2 separate regions of the Homo sapiens genome follow, and region 2 is linked to region 1. Evidence: promoter capture Hi-C in 16 types of primary human blood cells and fetal thymus (Javierre and others, 2016). All regions are on one chromosome and are shown on one strand. Each heading gives the region's core, a stretch centred on a gene start or on the middle of the fragment in contact. The rest is flanking DNA. Distances are from core to core; before and after follow the strand shown.

Region 1 (2,678 bases), core at 80-2,579:
ACACTCACACTCACACACACACAAACACACACACTGGGGCCCGGCAGCGTCAGCAGCCGCAGCTTTTTTTTTTTTAAACCAGATCCCTCAGTCAACAAACAAGATGGTTTTCCAAAAAAAAATTTTTTTTAATTAAATAAATAATCATAATAAAAACTTCCCCCCGACAGCATCCCGGGGTGGGGTGGGGGGGATGGAGGAGCCCCAGCTACCTCCCCGGCCGAGGGACAGCCGAGGGGGGGCGGGCGAGGCTCCGTGCCCCCCGCCCCCGCCCGCAGCCCCCGGCCGGCCCCCCGCCGGGACAATGTGACGCCCCCTCCCCGCCGCCCCCGGCACGCCGCCTCTGTCACCGGCTCCGGCCCTGCACTCTGCGCCCAGGCTTCCGAGGCTGCTCATAAACTTACTTCCAATTTATCCTGGGGAGGGGTGGAGGGCAGAGGGGAGGGGGGGGAGCCAAGGTTTTCCCATTGTCTTTTTTTTCGGGGGGGAGGTATGGGAAGGGCACGCAGGGGGGCGCCCCGAAGGGGAAGTTATTGCTCAAATCTCAAGTTGACTGAGGGGTCCTGACGAGAACACCCCCCTTTCCCTCCTCCCTCCCACACACCCCTCCCCTCCCCCTACCTCCCCCCACAACAAACTCCAAGCAGGCAGCCCCTGATCCTCCCAGAGACAAACACCAGCGACAAGACAGAGGGAGAGAGGAGAGAGGCAGAGGGGGAAGGGGGAGGGAGGGGAAATAGAGCTACTCCAGAAAAAAAGAGAGAGAGGAGAGTGAGAAGAAGAGAGAATGGAAAAGCTGGGATACTGCACCCTCCTGCTGCTGGCTGGCTGTCCCCCCTGGCAGCTGGAGGCAGGAACTCTGAGCAGGAGAAGCAGGAGGAGGAGGAGGAGGGAACTCTTCTTCATGGGGAGGGAGGGAAGAAGCTGGAGCTGCTGCTGCTGCTTCTGCTGCTGCTCTGGGCCTCTCGCACTTTTTAGATATTAGTGTGTTAAGATGGTAGGTTGTTCCCTTCTCCCTCCTCCTCCTCCTCCTCTCCTCTCCTCTCTCTCTCACTCACTCTCTCTCTCTCTCTCTCTCTGGGCTGTTTCTTTCCTCCTCTTCCCCAGGCAAGGGGGGGTGGGGAGGAGGGGGTTGGGGGGAGGAACTGGATCCTCCTCCTCCTCCAGGAGGGACACACACAGGCCCCGGGCCGGAATCGGGAGGGGGGAATCAGAGCAGCAGGAGAGAAACTGTAGGAGACAAACAAGCCCAACTCTTCATCCTCCTCCTCCTCTCAGCAGCAGCAGCGAGCACCACCAGCCCATTCACCACCCGGCCCCGGGCCGCAGCACCTCCGCCGCCTCAGCCCGGGGATCCCTCCGCCCAGGCCCAGACACACTCGCCCGCGCGGGAGCCCGCCGCGCGGCCCCGCCGGCCCGCCGCCGCCGCCGCCGTGCGCGCCCCCGCCGCTCCCGAGAGCCGGGCGAGAGGGACTGGGGCTGGGAAAGCGGGGACGAGGGCGAGGGGAGAGGAGGCGCCGGGGGAGAGCGGGCCGCGGCGGGGAGGGAGGGGGCCGCCGGGCGGAGTGGTACGGCGGCCGGCCCGGGCCCCCGCGCCTCGGCCCGCGGCTCCCGGGACGCTCGGGTCCCCCCACCGGGGGCGGTGGGGCGTCGGCGGGGGGGGCGACGGGGGCCCGCGGCGGCGCTCGGGCGGGCGGACTACTTGACGTGTCGGTGCGGCGAATTTATTTCACTTTGCCTAAGGAACGGGGTGTGCTGCGGCACCCATTGCCTAGGGAAAAAACCCGGATGTAAAGTGAGTGAAACTAAACTAGAGTGAAGTAGGGCAGCGGCAGCCAAACTCCAGTGCAGCGGCGGCGGCGGCGGCGGTGATGGGGCCGAGCACCGAGCGGCGGCGAAGGCAGCCAAACTCCGGGGCCCGTGCAGCGCCGCAGCTCGGCTCCCGTGCAGCCGCAGCCGAGGCGAGGCCGGAGCCCGCGGCGGCCCCCCCAACTCCGCGGCCCGAGCCCAACTCCCCCCTCCCGCCGGCGGGAGCTGCAAAGGGGCTCCAGAGCGGCCCCAACTCCCTCCAGTGCAACAGCAGTTTGAAGGGGGGGGGGGAAAGCCGTGAGGGGCAGGAGCGAGGAGAAGTGATGGGGAAGCACTGCAATGGGGGAGCGTGGTCCAGGCAACAGGAGAAAGATGCAACCTCAAGTCGAATGCAACATGCAATCCCCGGCCGCCGCTCGCCCGCTCCCTCCCCTCGCCACCCCGCCCCCTTTCCAAATAACTACCCTTGAACCACTTTATTAGCAGTACTTAGTCCAGCACTCGCTCCCGGGAGGGGCGGGGGACGGGGGCCTTCGCTCACCTTTATTTATTGCTGCTTTCTCCCCCCTCTCCATGTTTTTTATTCCTAAGTTCTTTTGTTCTAAGGGGGATGATGGCATTTACTTTTCTGCTTTGTGTAGCAGGGCAATCACTGGGAATCGGCCACGTATAATCCGGCGGTTTGTCATATTTTATTAGTGAAAGTATTTTATGCCTATTCTACCTCCAAGGACTGTAACATGGAGAATTGCAGGGAGGAGAAAAACATCAGAAGAATTCTTGTTTTGAGAGATTTCTTGGCGGGGCGGGGGAGGGCCTTTTTTTTTTTTTTTGGAGGGGGTTTATTTAGATTTTCGAATCGATAGTTT
Region 2 (2,678 bases), core at 73-2,572, 280 kb before region 1:
TTGCACATGTCTTTTGGTGCACATGTGCACGGATTTCTGTTAAGTATATGCTAGGAGTGAAACTGCTGGGTCATAGAATATATCGTTCATGATTTGTAAGGTATTTGGCTTTTCGAATTTAATATATAACAGACACTTTTTTAAAGTGGTTGTATCAATTTACACTCCCAACAGCAGTGTATTTTAATTGCTCACATCCTCCCAAACACTTGGTTTTATCAATCCTTTTAACTTTATTCATTCTTGCGGGCCTATAGTGGTACCTCATTGTGGTTTTAATTTGTAGCTCCCTAATGAGCTAATGAAGGTGAGTACCTTTTCATGTGTTCATTGCCCACTTAAATATCCATCCTTTGGGGCGGGGGTGTGTGGAAAGTGTCGCAGGTAGCCACTATCTGGGGCCAGTGTTGTGCAGGCAGTAAAAAGAATTTACGAGGACAGTTGTAGGTAAAGAAAGGCAGATTTATTAGAGAAAGTATGAAAAGACATTGCAAGGGTACAATGGGCAGGTCAGCAAGAGAGGAGCTGACTACAAAGAGACAAAGGCTTGCTGGGGATTTTATAGGATGGTGCTTGTGCTGTGTACTGAAGAGGGCTTTGTGCAGTGCTGATAATGCCAAGGTTGCAGTCAGCTATCAGCCAAGGGACTGGTGATAGCTGGGCACAGGAAGATTGTGAGTTATTTGCACAGGAGGGCTATGTGTCCTGGGCCACAAAGAAAGGTAGACTTACAGTTTATCTGCTTTTTCTTTTTGCTTTCCTTCAATCCCACCAGTCTGACTCCTTTTGCCTAATTAGGACTCTACAGAAAGTGCCTATTCAAGTCTCTGGCCTAGTTTCAAATTGGATTGCCTATCTTTTTTTATTATTATGATTTCTAAGGGCTGTTGACATATTCTGGATTTGAGCTCTTTAAGAATTATAAATATTATGTAAGTATCTTTTCTCATTCTATGGTTTGCCTTTTCACTCTCCGAATAATGTTTTTTGATTAACAGTTCCTAATTTTAACACAGTCCAACTCATCAACATTTTCTTTAATGGTTAGTGCTTTTCATGTCTTTTTCAAGAAATGTTTGTCTTCCCCCAAGGTTGCGAAGATATTCTCCAATACAATCTTCTTAAAGCTTTATCGTTTTACCCCTCACATTAAGCATATAATCTATCTGGAATTGATTTGTATGTTGTGAGATGGAGTCAAGTTTCACTTTTTTACAATGGAATACCTGATTGACCCATTACTTTCCCCACTTCTTTACGGAGACATCTTTGTCGTGAATAAAATGTCCAGATTCATGTGGACCTGTTTCTGGATTCTCAATTCTGACTTATTAGTCTATTGACCTTTCCCTAATTTCATATTGTACTTTTATTATAAGTATCATCATCCCCATTTTACAAATGAGGAAACTAAGGCACAGAGAGGTTAATTAGCTCGCCCAATTAAGTAATTTGCTAGTTAATGTCAGATCTGGAAATGGAACCCAGGGAGTTTAGTTTTACGGTCTGTGCTCTCAATAAGCTTTACTGCTTCTCAAGCTTAACAGTTCCAAGAACAAACATTTTACGTCACTACATCAAAATAGGCTTTTGCGTGAAGCCTTGGGAACAGGCATGCCACCTCTGCACCCTGGATTGGTCCTGGTGTTCCCCGCCCAGCCGCAAACCGAACCGCCGCTGTCCCAGTCCTACCACTAGAGGGCGCGGATAACTTAAACTGGCCGGGGACTTCCCTCCCGCCGCGCCTGGTTACCTTCAGCCAATCATCAAATATTTACCCAAAGCGCAGTTCAAAGCCAAAGTAGAAAGTTGTCTAATCCAGTCTCCATGCAGGACATTAACAAAAAGAGACAAAACAGGACTGATCTATCTGCGTAAGTATCTTCGGGGGAGAAAGACGCCACTCAGTTCCTGGCTAATTCATCTCATCCTTAAAGCACCTTATCCTAAGTCTCTCCAATCTTTCACTCTTCCTAGTGTAAACTAGGTTGTTTGGCATCCTCATGACAACCACTCTTTGGAGGTACTTTTTACAAGGTGTACACTAGAGTGCATTATTATGAGATCAAAAATTAGCTTTTATTTCTCTCGAAGAGACAATAGTACCCCATTACATTTCACTTCCTTAGCAATGTACAGGTTTCTTTGGTCTCTGTCCAATTTCTCTGTGTCCCTTTTAAAGTGTAAAAACCCAAAGTGGACTTTGCACTCTAGTATTCTATCTAGTGTCAGATTTACTTCCCGATTCTTTTTTTTTTTTTTCCGAAGTCTCACTTCGTCACTCAGACTGAAGTCTGGTGGCGTGATCTTGGTTCACTGTAATCTCCACCTCCCGGGTTCAAGTAATTCTGCTGCCTCAGCCTCCTGAGTAGCTGGGATTACAGGCACGCGCCACCACACCTGGCTACTTTTTGTATTTTTAGTAGAGACGGGGCTTCACCATGTTGGCCAATCAATTCCTGACCTCAAATGATCCTCCTGCCTCGGCCTCCCAAAGTGCTGGGATTACAGGCGTGAGCCACCGCACCCACCCTACTTCCCGATTCTTGAATGTTACACTGTTAATATACTGAAGCAATATGCAATTATTCAATGAAGTATTAATAGTTCATCTTTATCAACTTGACAACACAAACCACAAAAAAACACAAAAGTAATGATGCAGCAATATACAACAT

What was found. Contacts are between HindIII fragments. The CHiCAGO score rates a contact against its expected background, and 5 or more counts as called.
Region 2: a fragment that was not itself captured here is called in contact with the fragment with the promoter of PHF21A in region 1 in 1 of 17 cell types (total B cells); the score reaches 5.7 in total B cells.

The regions. Positions count from the first base shown.
Region 1 is chr11:46,120,125-46,122,802 of GRCh38, forward strand. It overlaps PHF21A (PHD finger protein 21A), which reads right to left and starts at 1,330. Exons shown (of 19, transcript NM_001352027.3): 1 at 811-1,330. LOC105376661 (a long non-coding RNA gene) reads left to right here and starts at 2,021. Exons shown (of 3, transcript XR_931252.4): 1 at 2,021-2,678. RefSeq lists silencers at 1,353-1,412, 1,853-2,162. The HindIII fragment of the contact is 5,748 bases long and covers 1-2,678 here.
Region 2 is chr11:45,841,607-45,844,284 of GRCh38, forward strand. No RefSeq gene overlaps it. Among named protein-coding and RNA genes, the nearest start is that of CRY2, 4.5 kb to the right of the region's middle. The HindIII fragment of the contact is 395 bases long and covers 1,126-1,520 here.